3 separate regions of the Homo sapiens genome follow, and regions 2 and 3 are each linked to region 1. Evidence: promoter capture Hi-C in human tissues and cell types (Jung and others, 2019). All regions are on one chromosome and are shown on one strand. Each heading gives the region's core, a stretch centred on a gene start or on the middle of the fragment in contact. The rest is flanking DNA. Distances are from core to core; before and after follow the strand shown.

Evidence for each region. The method cuts DNA at HindIII sites, captures the fragments that hold promoters and counts their contacts. A contact is called where the count stands out against the background at its distance.
Region 2: the fragment with the promoter of EFCAB12 here is called in contact with the fragment with the promoter of COPG1 in region 1 in 1 of the 25 tissues and cell types used here (spleen).
Region 3: a fragment that was not itself captured here is called in contact with the fragment with the promoter of COPG1 in region 1 in 1 of the 25 tissues and cell types used here (lymphoblastoid cells).

The regions. Positions count from the first base shown.
Region 1 is chr3:129,248,004-129,251,739 of GRCh38, reverse strand. It overlaps COPG1 (coat protein complex I subunit gamma 1), which reads right to left and starts at 2,134. Exons shown (of 24, transcript NM_016128.4): 1 at 1,994-2,134; 2 at 1,006-1,058. The coding sequence starts at 2,030. The HindIII fragment of the contact is 12,995 bases long and covers 1-3,736 here.
Region 2 is chr3:129,427,063-129,431,221 of GRCh38, reverse strand. EFCAB12 (EF-hand calcium binding domain 12) reads left to right here and starts at 2,586. Exons shown (of 9, transcript NM_207307.3): 1 at 2,586-2,782. The coding sequence starts at 2,734. MBD4 (methyl-CpG binding domain 4, DNA glycosylase) reads left to right here. Exons shown (of 8, transcript NM_001276270.2): 8 at 1-275. RefSeq lists a silencer at 2,400-2,449. The HindIII fragment of the contact is 10,320 bases long and covers 1-4,159 here.
Region 3 is chr3:129,074,299-129,078,109 of GRCh38, reverse strand. No RefSeq gene overlaps it. Among named protein-coding and RNA genes, the nearest start is that of GP9, 15 kb to the right of the region's middle. The HindIII fragment of the contact is 5,728 bases long and covers 1-3,811 here.

The DNA.
Region 1 (3,736 bases), core at 885-3,384:
CTCCACCCCAGGCTGACACCAGCAAGTCTCCATCTCAAAAAAAAAAAGAGAAGTGGCCGGGCGCGGTGGCTCACGCTTATAATCCCAGCACTTTGGGAGGCCGAGGCGGGAGGATCAAGAGGTCAGGATTCACACCATTCTCCTGCCTGGCCAACATCGTGAAACCTCATCTCTACTAAAAATATAAAAATCAGCCAGGCATAGTGGCGTGCGCCTGTAGTCCCGGCTACTTGGGAGGCTGAGACAGAAAAATTGCTTGAACCCAGGAGGCAGAGGTTGCAGTTGAGCCGAGATCGTGCCACTGCACTCCAGCCTGAGCAACAGAGTGAGACGCCTTCTAAAAAAAAATACATATATATATATATATAAAAAATATATATAATAAAAATAAACAAGTCATGCAAAATCTCTACCTGCATAATGGCCACAGTCTAGCTTAGGTGATAGTTTTAAACCAGTTTCCTTAGCTTTGGAATTAACTTTAAATAGAGAAATTTTTTAAATGTTTAAATAGAGAGGCCAGGCGCGGTGGCTCAAGCCTGTAATCCCAGCACTTTGGGAGGCCGAGGCGGGTGGATCACGAGGTCAGGAGATCAAGACCGTCCTGGCTAACGCGGTGAAACCCCGTCTCTACTAAAAATACAAAAAATTAGCCGGGTGTGGTGGCGGGCGTCTGTAGTCCCAGCTACTTGGGAGGCTGAGGCAGGAGAATGGCGTGAACCTGGAAGGCGGAGCTTGCAGTGAGCCGAGATCACGCCACTGCACTCCAGCCTGAGCGACAGAGCAAGACTCTGTCTCAGAAAAAAAAAAAAAAAAAAAAAAAAAAAGAAGTAAGCATAACTAACTCTCTCCAGAAACAAAGTTTTCCTGTCTTCCAGAAAACTTCCAGGCACAAGTTTTCTCCCGTGTTGCTCTTTAAAACAACACTTTGAATGTGTTGGTATTTCAGTTGCATTGGTGGTGAATATTTATGATGGAAGCTAGAGGGGAGCAAATGTCACTTGCCTCCTGGAGTACCGCACTCTTCTCAAGGTGCTGGAATGGGTTGGAGCCTCCACCTACGGTCAAGGACAATGGAGAAGGTAGGTTGTGACTCTGAACTTCAAAACTCTCCCAGACATAGGTAAAGGGAAGATGTCCCTTCCTAGGAAATCTAGTAAAGTTCAAACTCCTCAGGAATGGCAATCAAGCCTCTACAATCTGTCTAGGGATCCTACTAGTCTCCTGCAAGCAGGTGGGCTCCACTCTACCCCAAACCACTCACAATCTCCCAGCAGCCCTGGTACAGTCCTGTGCTTCTCATGGTGCCATGTCTTGTGTTCATTTATATAACTTGTAATTAACTAAGTCCCTATGTGCCAGGGACCACCATCTCGTTGTAACTAGTTCCTTCATAGCAGATGACACATTTGCAAATAATTACACGTGTGATTATCTGGTTGATGTCTGCCTCCTCCATCGTGGGTGCAACCATTCTAATATTCCTAGCTCAGGCACTGAGTGTCCCACTTGCTCTGTTGCAGTATCCAGGACACCGTACAGTACCTGGCATACAGTAACTGCTCAATATACTTTGCTGAATAAATGAATGATGGGGTCAGAGTTCCCAGTCACAGGACGCTGGCTCCGCAGGTTACACCCCAGTTTGGCCAGCACCAACGTAGCCCCAGCGAATCCCAAGAGGTTGGACGAAGAAAGTAACAAGAGAACATTCGGCATGGTCCCCTCCTTTGACAGATGGGTAAATTGAGGCCTGGGGGGGGGGGTGTTTGTCGCGCCCAAGGTCACCCAGAAAATTGCAGTCCGAGCTTACAAGAGTGAGACAGCCGCGCATGCTCGGGCTCTCCGAGGCCTGCCACTGACTAGCTGTGGACCCTGGCACAAGCCCCTGCCCCTCACTGGGCCTCAGCCTCCGGGTCAGGACAGAGAACCAGAAGGAAAGCTCGGCGGGTGGGGGTCCGGCCTCCCTCAGACCCAGGCCTGGCCCCCTCACCTGACTCCTCATCCTTCTTGTCGAATTTCTTCAACATAGTGGAGTCGGTGGGGCGCAATGCAGCAACGCAATGCTCGACGGGCGCGGCACGGAGTAGCGGTGCCACAGTGGTTCTACAGGGACCACTTCCGGGCCCCGACTGGCCACGTCGCCCAGCGCTCTGCGCAGGCGCATTCCGCGCTCTGCGCCTGCGCTCTTTCCGGTAGCCACAGCCTCGTCTAATGTTAACCTTAGCTCCGCCGGAGCGGGAGTGGGGAAAGCCAGACGGAGGGGCAAGGGCTAGGTGCAGGGGGGTACTGACTAGCATCCCAACTCTGCTCCCTACGCTTCTTTCCGTATACCAAGGGAGGAGGAGGAGCCCCTGCCTCGTTGCGTTGTGGCGTGAGTCTTTGTGGCTTTCGGGTGTGAGGTTGGTGGCACACACTGGCCCGCAGTAAACACCCAATTGATGTGACCGGTCTATGACTGTTATTGCCACCTTCCGAAGGAGCCTTGCCAGCCACTCACTCCTCGCTTTCAGATTCTTTCCCCTGCCTGATTTCCTCCTCAGCTCGAATCGCCATCTAACACTTTATTTTTACTTTCTGGCTTTTATTTGTTTATTTATTTCTCGTTCTGCTGCCCAGGCTGTGGTGCAGTTGTGCGATCCTGGCTCACTGCAGCCTACAGTTCCTGGGCTCAAGCGATCCTCCCACCTCAGCCTCCCGAGTAGAGCTGGGCGCACCACCCCCGACTAATTTTTTAATTTTTGTAGAGACGAGGTCTCACTATGATGTTGCCCAGTCTGGTCTTGAACTCGTGGCCTCAAGCGATCCTCCTTTCTCGACCTTCCAAAGTGCTGGGATTACAGCGGTGAGCCACTGCACCCGGCCACTTTCTTGCTCTTTTGTTTTTTTTTTTGTTATTTGCTTGTTTGTTTGTCTTTTATTCACTGCAGTGGATAATGTTGGCACATAGTAGTTGCTCAGTGAGTTCTCGTTGAATGAATGCGTGCAATTGCATTTTTAATTTATATCTGCCGGGCCCTATCTCGTCTGCTCCTGATGCAAATTGCCTTGTACATTATCAACCTTAAGAGATCTAACTAAACAGCATAGAACTTCTACGTTATTTTGTAAATACTTTGGATATTTATGGAGTGCCAACTAGATGCGCTGCCTACGCGGGGAGGTGGGGGGAAGGGCGTGGGAAGGAACGGAAAGGGGAAAATGACACATCACCCAGGGTTTATCTTCCTGGGGACCTATGCAGGACACCCTGAGGCTAAGGTAAGCACAGTGCATGCCAGTGAGCCAGATTGCATTGGCAATGGCAAAGTCGTGATGGCCAAGCGCTGCGACACGGCCCCAGCTTGCCTGGGGAGGGGAAGCCCGCAGGCCTGTGGGCAGGAGAAGGAGTGGGCTGTGGAGAGGAGAGGCAGGAGGCTGAGGCAGAGGCCCCAGGTGAAAAGGGTGACCGCAAAGCTGGAGGAAGGGAGATGTCAGAGGGGCCAGCCCTTAGGGTCTGGCTTTGCAGAGGCTAGGGCCAAGGACAACAGATCTTGTGACATGCAAAATTGTCAAGAGTCAGAAAGATGTTCAAAATGTCTGATCGGTAACCCCACCCCTAATCAGGAGGAAATTGTTCAAAAGAAGAAAATGAGGCCGGGCGCAGTGTCTCAAGCCTGTAATCCCAGCACTTTGGAAGGCTGAGGCAGGTGGATCACCTGAGGTCAGGAGTTTGAGAGCAGCCTGACCAACATGG
Region 2 (4,159 bases), core at 1,337-3,836, 180 kb before region 1:
GTTCTAAACTATCAATAATACAAAGCAAATTTCTATCAGCCTTGCTAAAGCTAGGGGCCCACTAAATATTTTTATCGGCTAGGCGTGGTGGTGCATGCCTGTAATCTCGGAAGGCTGAGGCAGGAGGATCATTTGAGCTCATGAGGGCCCAGGAGGTCAAGGCTTCAGTGAGCCATGATCATGCCACTGCACTCCAGTCTGGATGACAGAGAGAGACCCTGTCTCAAAAAATATATATTTAAAAAATAAAAATAAAAGCTGACCCCAAAGACAAATAAGATTCCTCTGGCATTGTGTATTGTTGACAGCTCCACACTAGCTCTTAGGAATTGTAGATTCCACCCCAGTATCCATTTGATAACCTAATGTGAATATGGGCCTGCTGCTCCATTTCAGCTCACTCACTCTTTTACCTTGGTCCCTTTGTGAAAACTCATTTCTCATCTTCCATTTGGAGTTTATACCATTTGGCCAGGCACAGTGGCTTACACCTGTAATCCTAGCACTTTGGGAGGCTGAGGCAGGAGGATTGCTTGAGCCCAGGAGTTCAAAACCAGACTGGGCAACATAATGAGACCCCGTCTCTACAAAAAATTTTAAAAATTAATTGGGCATGGTGACATACACTTGTGGTCCCAGCTACTCAGAAGGCTGAGGTGGGAGAATCCCTTGAGCCCAGGAGATTGAGGCTGCAGTGAGCTATGATCACACCACTGCACTTCAGCCTGGATGACACAGCAAGACCCTGTCTTAAAAAAAATAAGTCTTAATGCCATTTTTATTACAAGTATTGTTACAGTTCAAATACCAAAGCATTTACTATTAGAAAGAAACCAAGGGAAAAAACTAGTTACTATGTCTTAATTACCAACTACCATTTTAAGGTATAATTTGAAAATTAAATTGATTGAATAAATGAAAAATAAATCAGTTGTTCAGGAAACTGCCTTTGTTGTAGGGCAGTGTGAACCGAATCAGGCTGCAGTGTGATGCAGAGGTAGTTGGTTGTTTCCACTTTAGTGAGTGTCAGTTTTTAGAAGGATAGATTTTGACCAGAGAACAGGAAAACTGGCCACACCTCCCTCTCCCCAAGGCAAACCCACTTTATAGTTTACCATCACATTTTCATTTAACAAACATCCAAGTAGCATTCACAAAGTGTAAAGCCCTGTGGTGGGGAGGGGCACAAAGATAAACAAGTTCTGTACAGACCCTCACAGAGAGAAAGAAGGGCACCTAATAATGGAAGGGAACAAAAGCGGTAAGGAGTAGGGACAAGACACCCAAAGAGGGTGGAGAGGGGCCTCTGAAACCTTGGGCCCAGCTGGGCCTGGAGGGTGGGGCGAGCTCACCAAGCTCAGGGCATCAGGTGTGGCTTTGTGGTAGGGCTGGTGGTCACATACCTTCCCCCAGCATCTCCATGGGGAGTGTGGGCCCGTGTGAATGCAGGAGGCGAGCTCTGCACCAGGGGAGCTCAGGACACAGCCAGGTTGCTCAGGCTCTAGGCCTGGCTTTTCCTGTTTCTTGCAGGTGAGGTTGCCTGACCTCTGTACCTGTTAACTTGTCTTTTAAAAATGGGATAGTGGTGTCTACCTCACACAATGATGGTAATTATGAAGTTCAGACATGTAGTGCTAAAATGGTACCTGGCTTGCAAGAGTGCTGTGTGAATGTGGCCCATGGCAACAATCTGTTTGCAAGCGTCACAAAGATAGCTTGTCTCAGCAAAGGAATAAGGGCTTAGGTGTTTCTCTTTAACTTTTTAAAAATTGAGCTAAAAGCCACCATTTAACCATTTTAAAGTGTACAGTTCAGTGGTTTAGTACATTTACAGTGTGCAGCCATCATCACTAATTCCAGAAGTTTCCATTTCTTTTTTCCACTCCAAAAAGAATCTCTCCACCTGTTAGCAGTCACTTCAATTACTCACCCCATCCCCTAGCAACCATTCATCTACTTTCCGTGTCTGTGGGTTCGTCTATGCTGAACATTTCACATAAATGGAATCATACAGCACGTGGCCTTTTGTGTCTAGCTTCTTGCTTAGCATACTGTTTTGAAGGTTTATCCATATTGTAGCATGTACTTCATTCCTTCTTATGGCCATCCTATGGATATACCTCATTTTGCTTATCAGTTGATGCACATTTCAAGGGTTTATTATTATTCTCTGGTCCTCAGGTTCTGTAACTCCAAACCATGGCACCCTGCCATAAGCGGGGCAGAACATACCCAACACCTCTATCTGGCCACAGCTCACTTTGGTTCTTCCTAACCCTCTGGAGGAGGCAGGGCCTATTTTTCCTATGAGAAAACTGAGGCCTAGAGATATGGAGACCTGCGGAAGATCCCACATTTCACGGGAAAACCGGAGACTTTCTACACTGGATTCAGGGACTACTGGGCCGAACAAAGAAATCCCGCCTTTCACCAAGCCCAGAACTGGGCGGGGCGTGGATTTGCTCGCTGCCCCTCCCAGAATTGGACGAAAACGAGGTGGGGCCAGCAGGCGCTCGGCAGGGCGGGCTCGCTCTTAACACGTGACAGCGCTCAGCCAATTGGCGCGGGGCGTCCGTAGCCACGGCAACAGGTTGCTTCTGCAGTCTGAGCTGAGCGCCTTTCGCACGACTTGGAGTTACGGTTTATCTGATACCCCGGTACCCCTACGCAAGCAAGCCCACATCGACACACATTCACACACGCCCTTCAGCACCCCCTCCCAGCACCACGACCATGGACGACGACTATGAAGCGTACCACAGTCTGTTCTTGTCGCTGCTCGGTAAGCCCCGGGAAGAAGCGTCTGCAGGGAGCGCTCAGCGCCCTAAGGACGCGTGAAAGTGGGGTGAGGGCAAAAACTCAGCCACAGATATTGTGCCGACCCCCTCTGGGTGAAGGGTTGCCATGGAGTCGGGGGCAGGTCATGTACATTTCTGAGATTTCTATCTGAGCCTAGTTGGAGGAACCAGAGGCCCGACCCATGTGACGGGAGCCCTCCAGCTCGCCCTGTTTCTCTGCAGGACATTAATGTATTCAGTACTGGAGGAGAGGCATGGAGAAGACGTCAGTCTTCAAGGTTTTGGCAGTAATGTGCTGGGGACCAAGTTCTTGGCAAAGCAATGCAGCTTCACGGGTAAAGGACAGAGATAAATGGATAATTACAGAATAAGAAGGGGTAAATGCCGGGCCCAGGGATGACACCCAGGAGTAAAAGGTGTGCTGAGGGTATGGGATGGGGAGGAACAGTTCCAAGCTTTTGGAAAAGATCTTTACACTGGAGCTTAAAGGATAAAAAGGAGTTCTCCAAGCCAAAAGGGGAAGGAAAAGCATTTCGGGCAAGGAAACAGCATGACCCAAGAGGTCTGGTGTCTCTGGAAATGAGGTGAGAGAGGTCAGAAGGGACAAGATCATAAAAGATACTGCAAGCCAGGAGATGGAGAGGCCACTGGGAGTGGCAGGACTGGATTGGGAGCAGTCAGAAAAGACCTGAGACTGAGTTGGCAGACTCAGAATGTTGGTGTGGGGAGATGAGAGCTGGGGGCTATAAAGCTTGAAGACTGAAGGTCTTCTCCATGCCGCTTCTCCAGCACTGAACACATTAATGCCCAGTGGAGAAACAGGGAGAGCTGGAGAGGCTGGCCACCTTTCCCAGGCACACAGGTCAGGGCTCTGGTCAAATGCCCAAGCTAAAGATGCTGGGAGGTGAGGGAGAAGGCCCAGGCTAGAGGGAACTACGGGACTTGGGGGCTGGTTGGTCAGGAAACACAGAAGAGGCAAATAAAGATGGTTCTCAAGTTGGCAGCTGGGGGACCTGGTAGATGGAGATGTCTTCCACAGAGATAAGAGAACGTACTCAGAGGACCCAGTTAGTGGGGGAAGGGGCACAAAGACAAATCCAGTCTTGGTTGGTTGAGTTTAAGATCCTTGTCAGTAGCTGGGCACAGTATCTCACGCCTGTAATCCCAGCACTATGGGAAGCTGAGGCAGGAGGATTGCTTGAGCCCAGGAGTTTGAGAATAGCCTGGGCAACATAGTGAGATCCCATCTCTACAAAATTGTTTTTTAAAGTTAGCCAGGCCTGGTGGGGTGGCTCACGCCTGTAATCCCAGCACTTTAGGAGGCTGAGGTGGGTGGATCACGAGGTCAGGAGATCAAGACC
Region 3 (3,811 bases), core at 65-2,564, 170 kb after region 1:
CTCAAAAAAAAAAAAAAAAAAGGAAACCAAAGAGGTGTTTCCACTGTAATTAGTACTGCCAAGTATATGATGTTTTTTTTTTTTTTTTTTAGACAAAGTCTTGCTCTTTCACCAAGGCTGGAGTGCAGTGGCGCGATCTCAGCTCACAGCAAGCTCTGCCTCCTGGGTTCAAACGATTCTCCTGTCTCAGCCTCCCAAGTAGCTGGGACCACAGGCGTGCACCACCACACCAAGCTAATTTTTGTATTTTTAGTAGAGATGGAGTTTCACCCTCTTGGCCAGGCTGGTCTCGAACTCCTGACCCTCAAGCCTCCCAAAGAGCTGGGATTACATGAGAGAGCCACTGCACCCGGCCATGCCAAGTATATGATTAAGCAAACAAACATTACAGACTGTGATGGTTATTTTGTGTGCCAACTTTGCTGGGCCCTAGTATTGAGATATGTGGTCAAATATTATTCTGGGTGTTTCTGTGAGGGTGTTTTGGATGAGATTAGCATTTCAACAGTGGACTTTGAGAAAAGCAGATTGCCCTCTGTAATCGGGTGGGCCTCATCCAGTCAGTTGAAGGCCTGAAAAGAACAAAAAGACTGACCTCCCCTGAGCAAGAGGGGATCTGCAGCAACAGCCTTTGGACTTGACCTGTGATTCTGTGTCCCTGGCTCTCCAGACTGCTGGTCCAGCACGCAGGTTTTCGACTTGCCAACCTTCATCATCATGTGAACGAATTCCTTCAACTCTCTCTGTACACGCTTCCTATTGGTCATTTCTCTGGAGAACGCTGACTAATACACGGATGCCAATGTTTATTTTCCAGGGGACATTCAGACACAGGGTCAATTCTTTGCACTCCAGAGTATTTGTAATGATGATTTCTGCCCTGCTGACTTTTTTCCTTTCTTCATCCAGCACTTTAGGGCCAACTTTATTTTAAGTGGGGTGGGGAGAGGAATGAGAAGGAAGAGGGAAAATTCTTGCTATTGAAAATGCATCTGGGGGCCAGGTGAGGTGGCTCACACCTGTAATCCAGCACTTTGGGAGACCAAAGCAGGTGGATCACCCGACGTCAGGAGTTCGAGACCAGCCTGGCCAACCTGGTGAAACCCTGTCTCTACCAAAAGTACAAAAATCAGTCGGGCATGGTGGCAAGTGCCTGTAATCCCAGCTACTCGGGAGGCTGAGGCAGGAGAATCACTTGAACCCGGGAGGCGGAAGTTGCAATGAGCTGAGATCACTCACTGCACTTCAGCGTGGGCAACAGAGCAAGACTCCATCTCAAAAAAAAAAAGAAAAGAAAATGCATCTGGGGCCGAGCATGTTGGGTCATGCCTGTAATCCCAGCACCTTGGGAGGCAAACATGGGTGGATCACTTGAGCCCAGGAGTTCGAGACCAGCGTGGCCAACATGGTGAAACCCCATCTCTACCAAAAATACAAAAATTAGCTGGGTGTGGTGGCGCATACCTGTAGTCCCAGCTACTGAGGAGGCTGAGGCAAGAGAATCGCTTGAACTTGGGAGGCAGAGGTTGCAGTGAACTGAGATTGCTCCACTGCACTCCAGCCTGGGCAACAGAGCAAAACTCTGTCTCAGAAAAACAAACAAACAAAAAACAAAGAAAATGCATCTGAACTTTGACTCTCCAAATGAACTTACTTTATTTTATTTATTTATTTATTTATTTATTTTGAGACAGGGTCTCACTCTGTCATTCAGGCTGGAGTGCAATGGTGCAATCTTGATTCACTGCAACCTCCCTCCGCCTCGTGCCTCAGCCTCTCGAGTAGCTGGGATTTCAGGTGTGTGCCACCACGCCCAGCTGGTTTTTGTATTTTTAGTAGAGACAGGGTTATGCCATGTTGGCCGGGCTGGTTTCCAACTCCTGGCCTCAAGCAATCCACCCACCTTGGCATCCCAAAGTGTTGGGATTACAGGTGTGAGCCACTGCACTTGGCCAAACTTTACTTTTTCCCAAATCAACTTTGGGGATTCTGTCCCAAGAAAACACATCTAGATGTGGAAAAATTTTTATGTACAAAGAATTCAAATACAATGTGCTATGGTTTCCTTTTTTTTTTTTTTCTGACGGAATTTCAGTCTTGTCATCCAGGCTGGAGTGCAATGAATGGTGTGATCTTAGCTCACTGCAACCTCTGCCTCCCAAGTTCAAGCGATTCTCCTGCCTCAACCTCCCAAGTAGCTGGGATTACAGGTGCCCACCACCATGCCTGGCTAATTTTTGTATTTTTAGGAGAGATAGAGAGTTTCACCATGTTGGCCAGGCTAGGCTGGTCTCAAACTTCTGACCTCAGGTGATCCGCCCACCTCGGCCTCCCAAAGTGTTGGGATTACAGGCGTGAGCCACTGCACCTGGCCTGGTTTGCTATTTGACCCCTCCAAATCTCATGTTAAAATGTGATCCCCAATGTTGAAGGTGAGGCCTGGTGGAAGGTGGGTCATGGGAGCGCACCCCTCATGGCTTGGTGCAGTCCTCACACTAATGAGATAATGAGTGAATGCTCACTATGTTAGTTCCCAAGAGACCTGATTTTCAAAAAGAGCTGCCTGGCAACTCCCTCCCCTCTTTCCTGCTCCCTCTCTCACCGTGTGACCCACCAGCTCCCCTTCACCTCCAACATGAGTGAAAGCTTCCCTGAGGTCTCACTAGGAGCAGATGCTGGCGCCAGGCTTCCTGAACAGCCTGCAGAACTGTGAGCCAAATAAACCTCTTTTCTTTATAAATTACCCAGTCTCAGGTATTCCTTTATAGAGACACAAACAAACTAAGACATAATGCCATTTGTGGGGGCAGGGGGGACTTGGAAACAACCTAGATATCCCAGAAAAGGAGTGACATAGAAATGATCTTCATGAAGGATTTGATTGAAGTAGTGATTGGAATTCTACTATTGATTGGAAAATGCCAGTAAGTGAAATAAGCTGAATAGCTGTTTATCATTGCAATTTCACACCCAAACTTAAATGTTCCTCAATAAAAGATGAATTAATAAAAATAAAATGAATGAATACAATAAAATTAAAAATGACTAAGTAGGCCAGGCATGGTGGCTCACGCTTGTAATCACAGCACTTTGGGAAGCCAAGGTGGGTGGATCACTTGAGCTCAGGAGTCCGAGACCAGCCTGGCCAACATGGCAAAATCCTGTCTCTACAAAAATATATTAGCCAGGTATGGTAGCGTGCTCCTGTAGTCCCAGCTTCTCAGGGAGGCTGAGATGGGAGGTTAGCTTGAGCCCAGAAGGTCGAGGTTGCAGTGAGCTGAGATCGCACCACTGCCTCTCAGCCTGGGAGACAGAGTGAGACTCAGTCTCAAAAAAAAAAATTGACTAAGTAGAAACAGATGAACCATGAAAATATGTTCTCAATTACTCTCATAAATAAAATAATCGTAAATATATATTTAAATATATGGGTGTGTATATACACACGTACCCACCCACATATGTATATATACACACACATTTTGGGGAGAAAGCCTGGAAGGATATTCAGTCAAAGTTAGGAAGAAATCTGTCTCTGGAGGGGGCTGGATTTCAATTTCAGGCCTTTTATTATTATTATTATTTTTTTTTTTTTTTTTTTTGAGACGGAGTCTCTCTCTGTCACCCAGGCTGGAGTGCAGTGGCGCCACCTCGGCTCACTGCAAACTCCGCCTCCCGGGTTCACGCCATTCTCCTGCCTCAGCCTCCCGAGTAGCTAGGACTACAGGCGCCCGCCACCACGCCAGGCTAATTTTGTTTATTTTTAGTAGAGACAGGGTTTCACCATGTTAGCCAGGATGGTCTCGATCTC